Linked DNA regions of Homo sapiens: all the other regions are linked to region 3. Evidence: promoter capture Hi-C in 16 types of primary human blood cells and fetal thymus (Javierre and others, 2016). All regions are on one chromosome and are shown on one strand. Each heading gives the region's core, a stretch centred on a gene start or on the middle of the fragment in contact. The rest is flanking DNA. Distances are from core to core; before and after follow the strand shown. Region 1 has its middle 36 kb from the start of LINC02785. Region 2 has its middle 54 kb from the start of LINC02785. Region 3 holds the start of VAV3-AS1 (VAV3 antisense RNA 1).

Evidence for each region. The method cuts DNA at HindIII sites, captures the fragments that hold promoters and counts their contacts. A CHiCAGO score of 5 or more calls a contact.
Region 1: a fragment that was not itself captured here is called in contact with the fragment with the promoter of VAV3-AS1 in region 3 in 13 of 17 cell types (activated CD4 T cells, megakaryocytes, total CD8 T cells and 10 more); the score reaches 9.1 in activated CD4 T cells.
Region 2: a fragment that was not itself captured here is called in contact with the fragment with the promoter of VAV3-AS1 in region 3 in 16 of 17 cell types (megakaryocytes, M0 macrophages, M1 macrophages and 13 more); the score reaches 28.8 in megakaryocytes.

The regions. Positions count from the first base shown.
Region 1 is chr1:108,099,269-108,102,311 of GRCh38, forward strand. No RefSeq gene overlaps it. Among named protein-coding and RNA genes, the nearest start is that of LINC02785, 36 kb to the left of the region's middle. The HindIII fragment of the contact is 4,273 bases long and covers 1-3,043 here.
Region 2 is chr1:108,117,425-108,120,340 of GRCh38, forward strand. No RefSeq gene overlaps it. Among named protein-coding and RNA genes, the nearest start is that of LINC02785, 54 kb to the left of the region's middle. The HindIII fragment of the contact is 315 bases long and covers 1,455-1,769 here.
Region 3 is chr1:107,962,874-107,965,975 of GRCh38, forward strand. VAV3-AS1 (VAV3 antisense RNA 1) reads left to right here and starts at 1,570. Exons shown (of 3, transcript NR_046653.1): 1 at 1,570-1,631. VAV3 (vav guanine nucleotide exchange factor 3) reads right to left here and starts at 2,307. Exons shown (of 27, transcript NM_006113.5): 1 at 1,793-2,307. The coding sequence starts at 1,996. RefSeq lists enhancers at 1,318-1,447, 2,794-3,088, 3,024-3,093. The HindIII fragment of the contact is 9,456 bases long and covers 1-1,587 here.

The DNA.
Region 1 (3,043 bases), core at 534-3,033, 140 kb after region 3:
ATGACAAGTTATAAGCGACTTTGGAAAGCTCCTGGTGGTCCACTGACCCTACCAGTCATTAATACCCAGTTACATGTAGGATGAGTCTAAGTGACGATGGAAGACATGGAGTGTGCATCCTTCTACCTTCCCTTCCCAGTCCTGTAGCAGGCATTAGTAATCAATCACATCACTTTTGTGCTATACCTAGATCCGACCTCAGATTCCTTTTCAGGACAACGCATCCTGCAGGTAGGAACATCAACCAGAATGATGGTAAAATTGAAGTTGAAGTGGAAAATCATTCATTTAGAGACTTCATAACATCTGCTGGTCTCAGACAGTTATTACCACAAAAAAATTATATTTTAAAAAAACACAAAACTCAGTGGTTTAAAGCAACCGTCATTTGTTATTGTTAACACATCTACAAGTGGGCTGACCTAGACTAGGCATGGCTGAGCAGCTGTGCTCCACATGTCTCTCATCCTCCTTGGACCAATAGGCTAATCCAGGCATGTCCTTCTCATGGTGATGACAGAGGCACAAGATGGCCTGCGGAAATGTACAAGGCCTCTTATGGCCTACGTTTGGAATCAGTACACTGTCACTTCTACACACATGACATTAGCAAGAATAGATCACAAAGCTGAGCCCAAAGTCATGGAGTAGGGAAATACATTTCAGCCACAATGAAGCCATAGCAAGAGTATAGAAGCAGGGAGCAGCAAAGAACTGGATAATGCAATCCATTAATACAATCTACCATAAGGCCCTCATGAAAGATCATTGTCGGCTCATAATAAAATCTGTAATTTTCAGTGCCAACAACCTTGAAAAATTCTGCCTTATTTCATAAGGCATTTACCCATGTCAGCTAACAATAGAAGTGAACGATTGACCCTAGGAGCATTGAGGTGAGCCTGAAATCCACTGGTTGCAGAAGTGTTACCCTTGGGACTCTAAGCCAACACATAGAACTATAGCAAGAGTGGTGGTTATATTAAAGTGGCTAAGATCATCATCCTAACTGAATTAATGCAGGAACAGAAAACCAAATACCACATGTTCTCACTTACAAGTGGGAGTTAAACATTGGGTACATCTGGACACAAAGATAAGAACCATAGAGACTGGGGACTACTTAAAGTGGGAGAGGGGAGGGGAGCAAGGGCTGAAAAACTACCCATTGGTACTATGCTCACTACCTGGGTGATGAGATCATTTGTACCCCAAACCTCAGCATCATGCAATATCGCCATGTAACAAACCTATATGTATACCCCCTGAAATCTAAAATAAAACTTGAAATTGTTTTTAAAAAATTACTATCCAAAGGAAAATATCAGTGCTATGCATCTGAAACCTAAGAACAATGTTTTATTAAAATTACAATGACAAAAATAACTATCTATTCAGTTATTTGCTCTATTTGCTCCCTGAGAGGCACTTACTATAATCTCACAGGCATTCAGTGACAGTCACTTTCATTTAAAGGCTCCGATTTGCTTCTGTTACTCAGTTCTATTTATGAGAGAGGCTACTATGTTTACTACGTGAGTTTGATAGTCTTAAAAACACAAATATAACTTAATGGTAATCATAAGTACTGAAGTATTTACGGTGCTGTAAATTTTTGATTTATTGATGCAATAAATAAAAGAATTGCTAAGAAAGAATGTTTCAGCCATACAATACTGTGAAGCATGCCATTTTAACTACAGATCTTCACAATGTGAACAGCAATTGTATAACTTGATGGTATATATTGTATTCATAAGCAACATTTTAACACCAGTTAGAAGAAAAATATGAATACATTTGCTGGCTTCACCAATCCTATAAATGTCTTTGAATAATTTTTCTACCAAGAAAGCCAAATTTCTTGAACTGTTGTTAAACACCATCAGCATATACAATTTGTATTTGTCCATTTAAAAATAAATTTTTAAAAAGATAGCTAAATTTCAAAATACTTGTATTCCTGATTCCTTCCAATACACCTTAGTCTCAGAACTTCCAATAAAGATTTTCGTGCCTTGCTCTTTCTTCATGCTCTCATCTACAATCATTAAAGACCACATGGGGAGGAGTGGAGGGAGAAGAAAGATCGTTTTAAAAACTAGGTGGCAGAATCCTTTTAAAACAGAAGGATCATTTGTAACATATTGGCTTTTGATTGTAAAAAGATCCCCCTTAAGATGGGTTCAGGATAGGCCACGGATGAAGTAGAGATAACTAAATTGTTCTACATAATAAATAAGTTTTTGTGGAAGAGGTAGAGGGAATCTGAGAACAGTGTAGAAACTCAGGGAGAAGATAAGATAGAGAGACAAGGCAAGTACAGTGGCAGGAGGTTGATACCAGAGAAGAGATCACTATGGAGAAATTCAAAGTTGTGGGCATGGTGGTCCATCTTGATGAACAGGGACAGCTAATATTCTATTTCATATTACTCTCTGGGCTCTGCTGCAGTGTCACACAAACCTGACATCAACCTCCAAACCATCATCATCTTATTTCATTGAAATAAGAAAAAGAAACTGTTCCCTTTAGGTTGACCAAGAGCAAAGTAAGAAAAATATTCATGAAAGATGAAATACCTCAAGGAAGAACTTGGTGGAAGCAGAAAATGTGAGCAAGAGATGACTAGGAGAAATGCAAATAGGATTGCCAGATAAAGGATCCTTAGTTAAGTTTTAATTTCAGATAATATTTTTATAAAAATAAAGTACATCCCAAATATTACCTGATAAGTTTTTATGCTAAATACAATTATATTTTTATTTGCTAAATCTGGAACTCTAAATGCCAGCCTCCTCCACCCAAGAACCTTCTGCTCTACTGAAGGGAGTGTATATTTCTCTTTTTAATTTGGCTTCAAGCCAGTTGTATTTAAATTCATTAAATATACCTTCTACCTTTCAGCAGACAGGAGGACCTGAGAAATTTTGGACAACTGATAAATAGGTAAGTGTATCAAATTACCTTGTTATTAGCTAGTAATCAAAACTAACCCAGTCATCCACAGCTAAGCACATTTTCTATTGCCCATGTCTTTTTG
Region 2 (2,916 bases), core at 362-2,861, 150 kb after region 3:
TTTAGACCAATTGCATCATCTCTGAGGTTAAGTTTCTTCAGGTAGATAACATAAGGGCAATCATGCCTCATTCACCTGGCTGTTGTGAGGAATAAAAGACATAATGTATGTGAAATTCTTAGAATGGTGCCTGGCATTTTGGAAGCACATAATACACAAAAGTAATTATTATTAGTAGTAATATTAGTATTAGTATTATTAAAATATGTGTAAAAATCTCTCTATTCTAATTAACATATTTTTCAAAATAGAAATGAAAAAGTTAGATAGCTGATGAGGGAAAGAATAAGACAAAACTCAGCTCCATTTACTATGTATGTATTGAGTGCCTATTATATACTAGACGTTAAGATACAAAGATGTGTAGGACCTAGTCCCCTGCCTTTAAAAAGCTCAGAGTCTAATTGTGATGATAGATTAAACTAAACCTCTAAATATGATGTAGAACCTCTAATCTGTGCAACAAGAGGAGTAGAACAAAGAAACTAGCAATTCCTTCTTCAGCTGGTTGGAGAAACTGGACTAGGAAGGCTTCAAAGGGAAGCTGACATTAACCATGAAGTTCTGGCAGCAGGAAAAGCCATGTACCAAGGACAGTTCAGGCAAAAATGGAGCCACCACATTTGTGGGGATCTATTAATAGATGTGAAAGTAAAAGGGATGACAGACCAGACTCCAGAAGCATCTGAGGCCAAAAACAGGAGGAACTTTGAATGCCAGGGTGCAGAACTTCACCCTGGCAGCAGTGTGTGGATATGAAGGGAGTAGGCTGAAAGAGGAGGAGTCAGCTCATGAACACAGCAAGAGCAAGGGGTTACAGAAGACAGGCTGTGGAGGAGGCAAAATCCACAGTCATTGATGATGCATGGTACATGGGGGAAGAAAGAAAAAGAGGACTGAAGATGGTTGTCAGGCTTCCAGCTGGCGCAACTGGTTGAGCCTCTGAAATACAGAGTTCAGGAGAGAGCTGTGCAATGGGTGGGTTCATAAGGCTGATATTATAACAAGCCAGCCAATTCCTGTGCTGCCAGGCCTGAGGGTGTGAACGGTTGGTGGCGTTGCCAGATCCTGCAGGGTGATCTGATGGGCAAGATTAGGAAGAAGCTAGAGGTAGGGAAAGGCAACTGCTAGCCTTCTGCTCTCCACAGAACCCTGGAAAATGGCATCCACCAGCCAGTGATCACGTGCTTCAATATGCCCTAGAATGGCCCAGCCCCACATCTGACTCATCATCTTTCGCAAGCATTTCTATTTAAATCTTCCAGGCCACAAGTGCTGCAGACACAAAGGATGGAAGTATGTAATCCTGTATTAGAATCCCTGGTATCTGTGTGCTTAATCTTTCATATTTTCAATTAAATCATGAGGAAATAATTGTGCAAACCATAAATTCACCATCCACAGGGAAGTGATTCATTTATTATCCTTGAGAGGTTTGTAGCAGGGCATCTAAAAGCTTTAGATAAGGAGCTAATTTAATTTTGGTTCTCCTTTTGCTAAGATTTCTTACTCTGGGGTAATATATACAAAATAGGAAAAACATGTGAGGTCCGTAGGTCAAGAATATTAGCATGATTATTAATAACCAGAAATGTGACTTTCATACTGTTTTACTTCTTCAGTCTCCAAAGTTCTTTCTCACCTACTATGTCAATTCTTCTTAAAGGTAACATAAATAAAGCAAAAATTCCAAAAATGAAGTAGCTAATTTATGAGGGAAGCAAACTGTACTTTGGGAAGAGTCTTACCTTCAAATGTAGATATTGCCAAGCTTACAATACTTTGAATCATAGAATTCTTTTGCTGAAGGAAATCATTCCAGAGAACTTGGCTTGTTTGGGAGGTGAAACAGCGAACGCGCAGAGCAGATTGATAGCTTGAGGACACTCCCAGTTGGTCAGGAAAGGTGCAGGGACCAGAACCCGGGTTTCCTACCCTCAATCCAGCATTCTCCCCTCCACCCCTTACTGCTTCCCTAGCTGTCACTTACTCATTCTTTCAAAAATCAGATTTCAAACTTCAAACTAAAAATGGTATCTGAATTGTAATTATCTATATTTGAGTCCATCTCTCTTATTCCATCTCTCCCTAGTGACTTTAACCTCTTCCCTCGCTGTTTTTTTCTCAAATTCATAAGCCTACCACCCTTGAAAAAAAGCATCCCTTTGATCACGCGTCCCTCTCAGGTTGCCTCCTCCCCTTCTTCCCTTCAAGCCCAGCTTTTAGAAAGAATGTCTACCCTCCTGAACGCCTCTTCCTTCCCTCCCCTTCACTCCTCAGCTCACTGCCATCTGGAGTCTGTAGCTGCCACTCCACCAAACTGTTCTCACTGAAGCCTCAGACCTGGCACAACTCAAGGACCTTGCTCTTTTTGGACATCTGTACTACATGGAACGGTGTTGATCACTCCTTTCTTTTGGAAACACTCATTCCCTAACTACTGTGATATCAGCTCTTTGGTGTTTCTTTCCTTCTCAGTCTCCCTAATTGACACTTCACTTTTATGAGCCAGTGAAGCCATGAGGGTCATGGGTTGACAAATCTGGCAGGGGCAGAAGAGAGGCACAACTCTCCCAGATACGGCTCCCCCCAAAACCTTGCATCCACCACCCCAAATCAGAAATTTCATTTTCCTTCTTTCAGTTATTCATCCAACAAATATTTATCAAGTACCAACCGTGTGCCAAATAATGTACACAACGCATGGGGATACAGACATGAGAGAGGTAAGGGCTTACTTAGCCTCTGCCTTCAGTCCGCACCTGCCTCCCATCCACTCCTCTCCAACCCATCCACCTTTCGGAAAGATGCAGCTAAGCATGCATTCCCCTTTGATTAAATCCTCCAGTGGTTCTCTTATCAAACCCAGTGCCTCAGCGTGCCATATAACTGGTACTAACCTATCTTTCTAACCAA
Region 3 (3,102 bases), core at 320-2,819:
TGTAATAATTCCTTTAGGGCAAGTATCCTGGTGTGCTCATTTTGCTACCCCCACTAGGGAACAGAACTCTTAGAGCATTGTATGTGCTCAATTTTCATTAATGATGCTTATAATGACAATCTTTGGTCATCAGAAAGATTAAATTACATCTAACATAAGAGGAGAAGAGTGAAACACATTCAAAACGATTCTCATCCATTGTTAGCATTCAAATAAAGGCTTCGAGGTTTAAAAAGGTCTTCAGCTGTCCAGAAAACGTGATTATTGAGAGCAACTGCTGAGAGTTCCAGGAAACAAGTTCCAGGAAATGTGCACAGTACTGTACTCCCTACTGGTGGGCCAAGGCATCCTGACCCACGCTGCCTCCTGAGGCTACAGGCAAAGTGGAAAATGGGGATGTGTGAGAGTAGCTAACTGCAGCTCCCACCATAATAGAAAAGTCTGCCAAACCCCTCAAAGGAATTTCCAGAGTTGAGACAACTCTGAAGGGGTACCGAGAGGTAGCAATCACCATGCATGTTTATGGGGGTATAAAATAATTTACCTCACTTTTAAATACGTATGGCTCTCCCCACTTCCATGCCTGTTCTTTCTTAGGGACTGCCCACCAGCAGGTTGAAGGCAAACAGGCAAGGAATGCAGAATCTGAAGTGCAGGGGACCCTGATGAAACACTGACACCAAGAATCACAGATGACTGTGTGTGCTCTAACTTTAAATACATACTTATTAAATCATATAAAGTCCGTTCCTTCTTAAAAGGCGCTGCTCTGGTTGCTAAGTAGCTGAGGCTCTGCGTCATAGAGGATTAGTGCTGAAATGTGTCAGGGAGAGGGCTCTGTCCTCTCCCTTTTAAGTTGAAAGCAGTTTGGTTTTTTGTTTTGTTTTAACATTCTGAAAGAGAAAGAGGCTCTGAACCGAGTTTAACATCCTTCTGTACAAAAATTTTCCGACAGGACAAATAAACTACTCTTCCACTGAACTGTGACTTTTGAGCTGACTCTAGGGTGCACCCAACCTTCCAGAGGTGTCTGGCTTAACCCTCAAAGAGGCAGCTCCAGCCCCAGGAGCCGACCGGCACCACAGCACCTGAGCAGGGCACTGCAGGAAGGAAAGCGGAATCTCTAGTGAAACTTCTCATTTCCTGTCGCTGCTGAGAGAGGCTGGACTCGCTCCTTCTCACATGGCTTAGGAAGAGCTGTAAACGGGAGCTTGCCGGCTGGCCACCAGCTCAGGGGCCCTGGGGGCGGCCTCCGGGTTCTGCTCCCTGTTCTTCCCTTTGACCAATGTCACTCCTGGACAGATAACGGGACCAAACGCCCTTCACTTCCTCGAGTCCTCATGTATGTCATGGTTCCTCTTTTAGGAAAACATGAGTACAAGACGCAAAGCAAAAGAAGAGACTAAAGGCAAATTACCCCATCACCTCGTTTCGTCCCTCCCCTTCGTTATTATAGAAGAGCTTGATCAAATTCCCTTTGTCGCGCCACACACACGCAGAGTAGGTGAAGGGCACCCTAAGACAACTTATTTCTTTCCCGCCTCACAGAAAGCCTTTACGAAATCCTCACACCATCTCCGGACGCAAAGCTTTCGCATTCAGCTTGAGGAGCTAAACCATTTCAAGCCAAGGTAGGAAACGCCAAAGTGGTGCCGAAGTGGTCCCAAAGCAGAAGGCTGGGAAGCAGGGCAAGCTCAGCGCACCTAGACGTTTGCATTTACACAAAGAAATTAGCCGCATGATTAATGGGAGCTGCCGGCTGGAGGCGGGGCGCCCGTGCCGGCCTCCTCACCTGGGACATCTGCGGCCTCAGGTTGATCTCCTTCAGGTTGATGGAGTGCGCCCGGAGGTTGTTAAGCAGCTGGCAGAGCAGGACTCCATCGCGGAGGGTCTGCGCAAGGTCGAACACCTGAGCCGAGTCCCAGGTCACCCGGTGGTTGGTGGGCAGCACCTTGCAATGGATGAGCCACTGCGCGCACTGCTTCCACGGCTCCATGCCCGACGGCTCCGGGACGCGGCTGGGCCGGGGCGGGCGGCAAGGATGCGGCCGCCGCCGCCGCCGCCGCGGTTCCTCCGCGCCCCGCCGACGCCAACAGCCGCCGGCCCTTTCCCCGCGCGGGATCGAGGGAGCAGGAGCCGCGGCTGACGGGTCGCGGGCGCCGCGCTAGGCTCGGCTCCGGTCCCGGCCCGGGTGCGCCGCGACCCGGCCGCCGCTGCAGCGAGTCCCGCGCGCTCTCCGTGCGCCCCGGCCGGCTCGGCGGCGGCTGCCGCGCACAGGCTTCCGACTCCAGCGCCCGGCCCGCCACTGAGCATGCCCAGCACGCCGGCCGGTCTCGCTGCGGTCCGCAAGTCCCCAGACGCGCGGGTGGGAGCGCGCCGGCGGCCGGGGCTGGGGTCTGTGGCCGAGGGCGGGGCGCGGGGGAGGGGCCGGCGGAGGGGGGCGGCGGCCAGAAAGGGGATCCCGCGCCCCCGCCTGCAGCCTTGCGGGGCTCACGCAGCCCCCGGCGTCCTGGGGTCTTCTCTCGGGGCGGCTTCCCGGCTTTGCGGGGAGTGTGGCTGAATACTGTAATACGATGGGGTCCCCCAGGACCCCCTAAACAACAAATGCTCAAAGGAGCGACGGATTAATTGGGGCACCCAGACTCCCCAGAGCAATGAAAAAAGTGCCTAGAGCATCAGTAGAGCACGGCGCTGAAAGTTTTAGAGATCGTCGCCCCCTCGCCCCTTGCAGCTCTATCCCCTCCATTCTCTATAGCTGATTCCTCAGCCTATTCCTCCTAGTTGCCCCTAGTGGTGTTTTGGCACCCTCAAAGTGAGTGAGAGTGCGTGTGTGGAGACGCCTGCGGAAACCGCCCCGATCCCTGAGCCTATTTCCTCGCGAGGTGATTTTCACTTGGAGCTGGTTTGCCCCTGCACTGTCAGGCTCGGAACTGTTTGCCGTTGCTGTTCTGGCCCTTTTGCTGACCCCACAAAAACCTGCTTGAGAAAGGCCTGTGCCACGGTGCTAGACTGCGCATGCGTCGGCGACTGGCGGCCGGGTTTGAGAGCAAAGCGCGTTAGCCCTGGGCAGCTCCTGCCGGGCTGTTCTGGGATCCTTAGTGA